Regions from separate parts of the Homo sapiens genome. Here all the other regions are linked to region 3. The links are contacts of gene promoters, found by promoter capture Hi-C in human tissues and cell types (Jung and others, 2019). All regions are on one chromosome and are shown on one strand. Each heading gives the region's core, a stretch centred on a gene start or on the middle of the fragment in contact. The rest is flanking DNA. Distances are from core to core; before and after follow the strand shown.

Evidence for each region. The method cuts DNA at HindIII sites, captures the fragments that hold promoters and counts their contacts. A contact is called where the count stands out against the background at its distance.
Region 1: a contact is called between a fragment that was not itself captured here and the fragment with the promoter of UQCRC2 in region 3, in 1 of the 25 tissues and cell types used here (spleen).
Region 2: a contact is called between a fragment that was not itself captured here and the fragment with the promoter of UQCRC2 in region 3, in 1 of the 25 tissues and cell types used here (spleen).

What each region holds. Positions count from the first base shown.
Region 1 is chr16:22,278,094-22,281,899 of GRCh38, forward strand. It overlaps EEF2K (eukaryotic elongation factor 2 kinase), which reads left to right. Exons shown (of 18, transcript NM_013302.5): 17 at 2,105-2,283. Among named protein-coding and RNA genes, the nearest start is that of TRL-AAG2-4, 17 kb to the right of the region's middle. The HindIII fragment of the contact is 8,071 bases long and covers 1-3,806 here.
Region 2 is chr16:21,637,667-21,641,415 of GRCh38, forward strand. The region is part of intron 4 of METTL9 (methyltransferase 9, His-X-His N1(pi)-histidine); the gene reads left to right. IGSF6 (immunoglobulin superfamily member 6) reads right to left here. Exons shown (of 6, transcript NM_005849.4): 6 at 1,884-3,749. Among named protein-coding and RNA genes, the nearest start is that of IGSF6, 13 kb to the right of the region's middle. The HindIII fragment of the contact is 5,696 bases long and covers 1-3,749 here.
Region 3 is chr16:21,951,675-21,955,247 of GRCh38, forward strand. UQCRC2 (ubiquinol-cytochrome c reductase core protein 2) reads left to right here and starts at 1,687. Exons shown (of 14, transcript NM_003366.4): 1 at 1,687-1,782. The coding sequence starts at 1,750. RefSeq lists enhancers at 1,020-1,479, 1,568-2,285, 1,800-1,969, 1,980-2,029. The HindIII fragment of the contact is 13,220 bases long and covers 1-3,573 here.

The DNA.
Region 1 (3,806 bases), core at 393-2,892, 330 kb after region 3:
CTACTCAGGAGGTTAAAATGGGAGGATTGCTGGATCCCAGGACTTTGAGGCTGCAGTGAGCTATGATTGTGCCACTGCACTCCTGCCTGGGCAACAGAGTGAAACGCTATCTCAAGAAAAGAAAAAAGAGAGAGCAAAAGGGGGCTGAACTCGCCCTTTTATAACAAATCCACTTTCCTCATACTGGCAGAAATCCATTCATGAGGGCAGAACCATCAAAGCCCAATCACCTCTCAAAGATCCCAACTCCTAATACCTCACAATGGCAAGCAAATCTCAACATGGGTTTTGGAGGGGACACACGTTCCAACCAGAGCAAGGAGCCAGGTGCAGAAAGAGTTGGAGGAAGAATCTTCCAAGGTGAGGGAACAGCGGGTGCAAGGGCCACAGAGCAGGCAGGAGCAGGCATCGTTGGGGAATGGATGGCAGCCGGTGAGCCTGGTGCAAAGGTAGACAAACAGGAGACCGTCCTGGAGGGCAGCGCCTGTCAGACAGGGCCGCAGAGGGCACTGTGGCAGCAAGGCAGGGACAGCAAGTCATCAGACCTATTGCTTCTGGAATGTTTCACGAGACCCACAGGCCTTCTTACCTGTGTCGCTGTATTTGCTCTTTCCTGATATACTATAAATAGTTACTCACACGGATTACACCCAAAGAAAAAGAGCCCTCCGCCCTGTTTGCTGTGTATTCTGTGGTGCGTGGGTTTGGCTGGAAACTTTGTGTGCCCTGGCTGGTTTGGCCATACATGGGCTGCAGTAGGAGGAGTTGAGGGTCGACGGGCAGAGCTGGAAGTGGAGACTCAACTATTCTGGGGTGAGTTCTGCATTGTGCTGGAGGCAATTTTACATAACAAAATTCACAGCTGTCCCGCACAGCAGAGCATACGGTGATTGCCATTAGTGCAGATGGCTCTAGAGGCCTCTGCAGAGGACCCCGCCCCCAATCCACTTCTCTACAAGTCAGAGGGCAGCTTAGCTAGGACACTCAGGCATTGCTAATGCTAGCTCATGGCTGCCTCTGTGTAGACTGTAAAAATGGGCCCCTTCCTCAAGGGGGTGTCCTAGCTAAGCTGCCCTTTACTTTCATCTATGGGAAAATTGTTGTAATATACTGATTTTATTAAGGAAAGCAACTTGACTCCTCTTTTTTTTTTTTTTTTTTTAACACAGGGTTATACTCTATTGCCCAGGCTGGAGTGCAGTGGCATGATCATAGCTCACTGCAGCCTCTAACTCCTGGGCTCAAGCTATCCTCCCACCTCAGCCTCCGGAGTAGCTGGGACTACAGGTGTCCATCACCACACCCAGCTTTTTGTGTGTTTATTGTATTTTTTAATTTTTGTGGGTACATAGTAAGTGTGTATATGGGTTACATGAGCTATTTTGATATGGGCATGGAATGTGTAATAATCACATCAGGATAAATGGGATATCCATCATCTCAAGCATTTATTCATTGTGGTATAAACAATTTCTTTATACTCTTTTAGTTATTTTAAAATATACAATTACATTATTTTTGACTATAGTCACTGTTTTTTTGTTGTGTTTTTGTTTTTTTGTAGAGACACGGTCTCTCTACGTTGCCTGGGCTGGTCAACTGCTCTCTTAATAAATATTGGCCGAGCACAGTGGCTCATGCCTGTAATCTCAGCACTTTGGGAGGCCTAGGCATGTGGATCACTCGAGGTTAGGGGTTCGAGACCAGCCTGGCCAACGTGGTGAAATGCCGTCTTTACTAAAAATACAAAAAATTAGCTGGGTGTGGTGGCGTGCACCTGTAATCCTAGCTACTCAGGAGGCTGAGACAGGAGAATTGCTTGAACTTGAGAGGCGGAGGCTGCAGTGGGCCGAGATTGCACCACTGCACTCCAGCCTGGGCAACAGAGCAAGACTCTGTCTCAAAAATGAATGAATGAATGAGTGAATGAATATCACAGTATGAAGGTGCCTCATAGATGTATTGGCCTTGGACAAGATAGGTCGTGAACCATAGGTGGTGGCCCTGCTGGGATCCCTGACTTGCCCCTCCTGCTGGAAGGCCCTCCTCCTGCCACCCTGTTGCCATGGTAACCTCCACCTTTCCCTCTGTATCTCCTGGCAAGGTGCCAAGACTGGCTAGAGGCCCTGCACTGGTACAACACTGCCCTGGAGATGACGGACTGTGATGAGGGCGGTGAGTACGACGGAATGCAGGACGAGCCCCGGTACATGATGCTGGCCAGGGAGGCCGAGATGCTGTTCACAGGAGGCTACGGGCTGGAGAAGGACCCGCAGAGATCAGGTAGGGCCTGGCAGACCTGCCCCTGGGCTGCAACAGGGCTGGGCAGGGAGGAACCTAATTTCCATTCCACTGGGAGTTATTTATGACAAGATGACAGGCTGAATCTTCTTCCAGGGAGGGGAATTTATGGAGCTAGTATGAAGATGAACATTGTTATTTTAATGGTTATATATTACGGCTTTGTAGGGGGTTTTTGCAATTTTAAAAACTGAATTGAGATTTTCATAACAAAATTCACCATCTTAAAGTATATAGTTTAGTAGGGGGGTTTTCCTTTCCTTTCTTTCTTTTTTTTTTTTTTTTTTTGAGACGGAGTCTCGCTCTATAGCCCAGACTGGAGTGCAACGGCATAATCTTGGCTCACTGCAGCCTCCACCTCCCGAGTTCCAGCGATTCTCCTGCCTCAGCCTCCTGAGTAGCTGGGATTACAGGTGTGCCACCATGCACAGCTGATTTTTGTATTTTTAGTAGAGACAGGGTTTTGCCATGTTGGCCAGGCTGGTCTCGAACTCCTGACCTCAAGTGATCGGCCCACCTCGGCCTCCCAAAGTGCTGGATTACAGGCGTGAGCCACCACACCTGGCCCAGAGTTTCACTCTTGTAGCCCAGGCTGGAGTGGGCCATCTCTGCTCCCTGCAACCTTCACCTCCCAGGTTCAGGTGATTCTTGTGCCTCAGCCTCCTGCATAGCTGGGACTACAGGCACACACCCAGCTAATTTTTCTGTTTTTAGTAGAGATGGGGTTTCACCATGTTGGCCAGACTGGTCTTGAACTCCTGACCTCAGGTGATCTGCCCGCCTCAGCCTCCCAAAGTGCTGGGATTATACGTGTGAGCCACCATGCCTGGCCTCCTTTCCTTTTCTTTCTTTCTTTTTTCTTTGAAATAGAATCTCACTGTGTCACTCAGGCTGGAGTGCAGTGGCACAATCATAGCTCACTCCAGCCTGGAACTCCTATGCTCAAGCAATTCTCCTGCCTCAGCCTCCCAAGCAGCTGGGACTACAGGCACTTGCTTCCACACCCAGCCAATTTTTAAAAGTTCTTTGTAGTGACAGAGTCTTGCTATGTTGCCCAGGCTGGTCTTGAACTCCTAGCCTCAAGCAATCTGCTGCCTTGGCTTCCCAAAGTCTTTGGATTACAGATGTGAGCCACTGCACCTGGTCCTAGTGGGTTTTAGTATAGTCATAATGTTGTACAATCATCACTGCTATGTAATTCCAGAACATTTCCATCACCCCAAAAAGAAATCCCGTACCAGTTAGCAGTCCTCCCCGAACCTAGCAGCCACTATACTTTTTGTCCCTATAGATTTGCCTATTCTGGAGATTTTATATAACTGGGAGTATACAATTTGTGGCTTTTTGTATCTGCTTCTTTCATTTAGCATAACTTTTTCAAGATTCATCTGTGTTGAAGTGTGTTATCAGTACTTCATTCCTTCTTATTACTACATAATATTCCATTGTGTGGATATACAGCCTTTATCCATTCATCAGTTGATAGACAAGTTATATATATATTT
Region 2 (3,749 bases), core at 236-2,735, 310 kb before region 3:
TGCTGAGCCCGTACACACCCGGAACCTGTGCTGGCCCGCGTGCGCTGCGCGCAGCCCGGCTCCTGCCCGTGCCTCTCCCTCCACACTTCCCCGCGAGCAGAGAGCCAGTCCGGCCTCGGCCAGCCACAGAGAGGGGTCCCCACAGCACAGCGGCGGGCTGAAGTGCTCCTTGAGTGCGGTCAGAGCGGACACCGAGGCCGAGGAGGCGCTGAGAGCGAGCGAGGGCTGCTAGCACATTGTCACCTCTCAATAAGCCACTCAGTCTATGGTAATTTGTTTTTGCAGCTCGAAGTAAAACAAGTTGTTTCAGTATTAATTCTTTTTTAATTGTCATAGGAAACCCAAATCTAAACAGAAAGTTACAGCTTAGGCTGGGTGCGGTGGCTTATGCCTGTAATCCTAGCATTTTGGGAGGCCAAGGTGGGCAGATCACCTGAGGTCAGGAGTTTGAGACCAGCCTGGCCAACAGAGTGAAACCCCATCTCTACTAAAAATACAAAAATTAGCCAGGCATGGTGGCAGATGCCTATAATCCCAGCTACTCAGGAGGCTGAGGCAGGAGAATCACTTGAACCCTGGAGGCAGAGGTTGCAGTGAGCCGAGATCACGCCATTGTACTCCAGCCTGAGCGTCAAGAGCAAAACTCCATCTCAAGAAGAAAGAAAAAGTTGCAGTTTAATTCTTTTCTGGATGCTCAGATAGCAGGACAATTAGTACTGTTGGGGTTTGTTGAATGGTCTTTATGGAAAGGGGTGAAGCTTCATGGTGAGGGACTGAAGTATGCTACATATCTCAATTTAAATGCTGAAGGAACATTTTTCTATAGAAACATTGTTCAATTGCATTTATAGAAGGCATTTGAGGGCCTACTGTGTACCAAGTGGAAATATAAAGATAAATGAGAATCACGCTTTTGCTCTTAAAACACAGAATAGTACACAATATAGATAGAAACAGATAATGGCAGGAAATTGTGGTAAGAAATATGTCAAACTAAGTACTGAAGAATTAGAGACGAATAGATCTGTTAGCCTGTGGGTGAGTTAGGGAAGGTTTCATGTTGAGGTGAGCTGTGTTTGTAGTCTGAAGCATTTTACCAGGCTGAGGGGAACAGCATGTGCAAAAGCATGAAGGTGTGAGTAAGGTTTGTGTGGGGGTGGAGCAAGTTCAGTATGACCCGAGGATAGTTTGCAAAAGAGGCCTTTGATTGTATAGTGTAGCACTCAGTAAATAGTGTTGGCGCCTGAAATCAATGACTGTACATCCCAAACTAATCTCAAAGCTATTTCCTTTTGGTGTGGGTTTGGTTTTGTTGTTAATTTTGAAATATACTTTTGAACACTGAAATCTCTGAAACTGCTAAGATCTCTAGAAGTGTAATTGGGAAAGAAACTTGCTTGTAGCTTTAACAAAATAAGAAACTCTTCCCAAATAAAACTTATTTTGAAGTTTGAAAATATATACTTTTGGTGAGATAGATGAATAAATGAATGAATACTGTGTATACACCAGATATTCTTATATAAGACCTAGAGGAATGGAACTCTTTGCGAAAGTATATTCCGTATTTCAGCTTCAAAATCAATCTTTGAAACACGGTCCTTGCTTACATGGGAAAGGCATATTGTGAGTCAAATACTAGTTTATCTGAGGGATTTTGTCTCCTGGTTAGACAATGAACAGTGTATTTTCAGTCCTGGAATTCAGTACCAAAATGTAATGACTCCCAGAAATGAAAAGCAAATGATCGAATTCAACACTTCTGTTCATTTCGATGGTATTAGTGCTTGCCCTTTTTTGCAGTCTGGCTTAGAAGCTCATTACTTTACCTGAGCTAGTGGTCTCAGAGTGGGGAAGTACACACTGCAGAGTACACAAGACAGTTTATTTTGGAATATGGCAGGAAAGTATTAGCATTTTTTATTTATATTGCTGCTTATGCCATTGTTTAATTTGTTTTTGTGTATAAGGTACAAAGGTACATTTTCATGCATATACCGTATACAAAACACATGTGGCCCCACACATATACACATGTGCACTCACGTGTACACACAGATACACACAAAAAAATGAGGTTCCATGCTGCCTCCTTTCCCCTGCCCATTTTTCTGGGCACATAGGATCAGGAAAGTTTGATATCACTGATTTAAACCATCAATGCAAAAACACTTTCAAAGGAATCTTAAAATATTTAACAATTCTAAGTTTTATAAAGAATACACCTTAGGCAATACCAGTTTAAAAGAAACACTTTATTTTATTTATTTATTTATTTATTTATTTATTTTTGAGACAGTCTTGCTCTGTCACCTAGGCTGGGGTGCAGTGGCGTGATCTCAGCTCACTGCAACCTCCGCATCCTGGGTTCAAGTGATCTCCTGCCTCAGCCTCCCAAATAGCTGGGATTACAGGTGTGTGCCACCAAACCCCGCTAAATTTTTTTGTATTTTTAGTAGAGACGGGTTTCATCATGTTGTTCAGGCTGGTCTCGAACTCCTGATCTCATGATTCACCTGCCTCAGCCTCCCAAAGTGTTGGGATTACAGGCGTGAGCCACCACACCCGGCCTAAAAGAGACACTTTAATGAAATAAACATAGTAGGTTGTAAGGTTGTAATTTGTGTCTAATAATGAATGCATACTTATGGGCACTTTAGATTTTTTTATACCAAAGTAGCTTTCAAAGGACAATTTATATCATGTTTTCTTAGTGAAGTGGTAATGAATTCCATAAATATCCTTGTACCATGCCTCCTATCTGACATTTCCCTCCTAAATTGGTTAAAAATCAGTATTATAGACTGTGCGCGGTGGCTCACGCCTGTAATCCCAGCACTTTGGGAGGCCATTTCAGGCAGATCATCTGAGGTCTTGAGTTTGAGACCAGCCTGGCCAACATGGTGAAACCCCGTCTCTACTAAAAATACAAAAAAAAAAAAAAAAAAAAATTAGCCGGGCGTGGTGGTGCGTACCTGTAATCCCAGCTACTTGGGAAACTGAGGCAGAAGAATGGCATGAACCCGGGAGGTGGAGGTTGTAGTGAGCCGAGATTGCACCACTGCACTCCACCCTGGGCAACAGAACGAGACTCTGTCTCAAAAAAAAAAAAAAAAGAAAAGAAAAAAAATCAGTATTACAAACGTGCTTGTAAAGTAGATGTGTTGCCCACATCTTCCCTGGTGCTGTTATTTGGCACAACACTGACATCTAGAGTCCGTTGTGGCTTATTTGTTCTGAAGTTACCTCTGTTTAACCTTCAGCTTTGGATTTTCTGTATTTTGGCTTTTATGGTCTTACTCTAGCCACTATATTATTCTCATTTTGCTGATAGCATGATGTAAGTTACTTTGCATACCCTGGCAGGCAAATGTGCGTTACCCCACTGCCCCATTACAACATCAGAGGAAATAACTTTACTAAGGTGCTTTTCAAAATGAATGTCTCTAACTCAAATTTTGTCACGTTGTCCCTCCCAACTTATTTTAATTGTGCCATGATTTCCACAAACCATAAAGGTGATTCTTCCACTCAAGACTGAGGCACATGGTTTGGCTTCAGATCTTCAGGATGGCAGTCATCACACATCTCATGTTGAATGAAACAGACTCAGGATACAAGTTTAAAATAGAATTTTTTTTCTTGGCAAATTTGGAAGGTATTTTTCAGTTGCATTTTGTTGGGTTTTAGTATTTTGGTAATGACTATTAGTTATAGTTTCCTTACATTCTGACATCCTTCTTTGTAGC
Region 3 (3,573 bases), core at 437-2,936:
CTGTATAACACATTCATGATTTTTGCTGTATCTCCGTATCATCAAGTTACTTAACGTTTTTACACCAACTTTTATTATTTTATAAATGTACTTAAAGAGGAAATTCACTACTAGCATTGCTTGCCATAATCAAAATAAATATATTATTAAAATGGAACAGTGCTAAATAAGGTGTACACATGGACATAGAGTGTGGAATGACAGACAATGGAGACTCCGAAAGGTGGAGGGGTGGGAGAGAGGTGAACGATGAGAAAGTACTTAATGGGTACCATGTACATTATTCGGGTGATGGGTACACTAAAAGCCCAGACTTCACCATTACTGCAATATATCCATATAACATAACTGTACTTGCGCCCCTTAAATTTATACAAATTTTTAAAAGGAAAAAATGGAAGTGTTCATCTATGTACCAACTTAAAATCATCTCACGCACCACTAGTGTTAAATCTACCACATGTGGGGAAACTGTGTGGTATGAATTGGGTTGAGGGCGTCCCCAGCAGGCACAGAAATTGGGTTGGTGCCAGGTTCTTAATGCCCAGATCTTAATTAGAGAGCCCAAGTCCGTTGTAGGCCTGGAGCAATTCAGACACAAGGCAAAAAGAAAGTACATTTGCCTATGCCTTGTAACGTCTACACCACCAGCCTTTCTGAAACTATTGTGCATACGAAGTCATCCCAGGATCTTGTAAAAACACCGATTCGGATCCAATATGGGACCTGGAGTTCATACATTTCTAATCAACTCCTAAATGATATTGATGCTGATACTGTCGGTTTCCCAACCAAGCAACGTAGCAAGGTACGAAACTCTAAAGTCCCTAAAGGGCAGGGACCACGCCTCTCGCGTTGGCATAGTGCCTAGCTCAAGGCACTTTCTGGGTTAACACTCGCTGAGGACCGGAGTGAACGCCCCCGCCCCAAGTCGTCACGTGACTGACTTTCTCCAACTGCCGGTTTCGGCTCACATAACACACCTACTATCCAAAACATTTCTATTTTCCTAACACAAAAACTATAGCTAAGTTTTTATATTCTATGTAGCCCCAGCCTAGGACGTAAATTCCACGAGACCAAAAGCCTTGTGATGATTCCCCGAGGTTGCTGACCCTCCCGGTGTGTCCCGGGCCTGCTCTGGGGGACACAGCGGCGAATACGTTGAACGAGGCCCCTGTTTCACGGAGCTAAAGATCCAGTAAGGACTTCACCCAGCGAGAGGCAACTACGCCGGGCTTCGATACCCAATACCTCTGCAGAAAGGTGGAGTGGCAGGAATCTCCTGAAGCCTCCAACGTCCAGGAACGCGGAAACCCAGGGCCTCCAGTGCAGGTGTCATCCCGGAGGGCGCATGCGGAGTCCCAAGAGAGGCGCGTCCCATTGGACAATGCTGAGCGGAAGAGCCCAAGATAGCGGGGGGAGTTGTGACAGGCTGCTGCAGACGTACTTAGAAAAGGGGTGCATACTGGATATTCAGGCTAGGAGAAGAACGCAAAAAGCAGTGACGTACATTATTCTCTGCATATATTTACTTGGGAAATTGTGCGTCTCCCTATTCTGAGTCTTGGAGGAATTGGACTGGTCCAACCTTATAAAGAGAGCAGTAGAGCGCGGCAGTATAGAGAGTACCTCACGAAGGGGACGTGGGAAAGTGTTAGCGGGGAACGCTGGGAAACTCCCGGCCTCCGCCACCATCTTGCTTTCCTTTAATCCGGCAGTGACCGTGTGTCAGAACAATCTTGAATCATGAAGCTACTAACCAGAGCCGGCTCTTTCTCGGTGAGCTCAGGTGGCGGGTTTGGGAAAGGGCTGGGGAGCAGTGTGTCGACAAGGTGATACGAGGCGGAGGTGTCTGGTCTGGGGTCTGGGCCTTGGGATTCGGTCTGCCCTTCAGCTGAACCCTGCGGGCCAAGTGGGCTGCAGACTGGGTCAGGCTTTGGAGGCCCAGCTCATGCTGTGAGCACAAGAGACCTAACACCGGGAAACCTGAAGAGAGGGGCAGGACGTGAGAGCGGAGTTGAAGCGAGTCCTTGGAGAGACTTCTGAAGGTCACTCCGGTACTCAAGTGCTGGAGAAAGAGACCGTGAAACCCAGGGGGAGCGGGAGGACGGCGCACTTAGCCCCCCACCTTCACTTTATCCGCTGCAGCCTCTGCTCCTTGGTTTATCACGGAGCGTCAGTTTCCCCAGCGAATAAAAGTATAAGAAAGGAGCTAATGCAGATAGAACACTTATTACAGTACCTGGAACTTCATTGTTAAATACTATGGTGTCTTAGTAGTCTAACGTTGCTTTTCTTGATCGTATGTTAGACGGTTCCTCCAAGACGTCTCTGTTTGTCCTCAAAAGCTCCTTAATTAAGTTTCCCCTTCAAGCCTAAATTAAACATAGCTGTCACTTGGGGAAAACTCACACATCAGGGTTATATCACTGTGGGACAGTGGTTATTAAGAGGGGTAAGGGGGAACACTTAAAAAATCATAGCGAGGGACAGAATGCCCCCAGGGAACCGGTGGCGATGTTTGGAGACATATTTAGTTGCAACAACTTGTAAGGAGGGTGCTATTGGCATGGAGAGGCCAGGGATGCTGCTAAACTTCGCCTTACAGCAAAGAATTATCTAGCCCCAAGTGCCAGTAGTAGTACCTGTGTTGAGAAACCCCCCTAGATGGAGATGCAGAAGACCAGACCTGGGCATGGAATGTTCTTATGCTTTATGTTTACATAAATGTGCTGTGGGCTATATCGATTTAGGCTGTAATTGCATTAACCTTCCAGGTATACCTAGACACACCAGTGATTACCCTTGGAGGGAAGCACGGTTAGATTGGCAAAAGACCCCAACATTTCCTTCTCCATTCTATTTTGCAACAGAAAAAGCTCAGAGAAAACAGTTGGAGAGGCCCAAAGTAAACAAATTGCAGTAAACTTGAAAGCAATTATTTATGTGTCTAATTTTAGCACTTTATATAGGAGAATAAACTTAGATATATCTTGTTATTAGAACAAAATAATTTAGAAGATTGCATGACAGTTACTAGGATAATTTGCTGATTTGAATGGGACGATTAAGAAGCACATTACCGGCGGAGCGCGATGGCTCACACCTGTAATCCTAGCACTTTGGGAGTCAGAGGCAGGCGGATCACTTGAGATGAGGAGTTCGAAACCAGTCTGGCCATCATGGTGAAACCCCGTCTCTACTAAAAATACAAAAAAAAAAAAAATAGCCGGGCGTGGTGGTGGTGGGCGCCTCTAATCCCAGCTACTCAGGAGGCTGAGGCAGGAGAATCTCTTGAACCCAGGAGGCGGAGGTTGCAGTGAGCCGAGATCGCACCGCTGCACTCCAGCCTAGACGACAGAGCGAGACTCCGTCTCAAAAAAAAAAAAAAAAAAAAATTACCAACAAAGAGTTACTATTTGGGCACATTTGGTTGGAAAACACCTAAAATCTCACTTGGTAACGGAATTATAGATTATTCATATTTGAATTGCTATGCCCATATATCTTAAAAGTTTACTTTTTGGAAAATTATAGGCCAAAATTACAAAGAAGGTTAACTATACCATA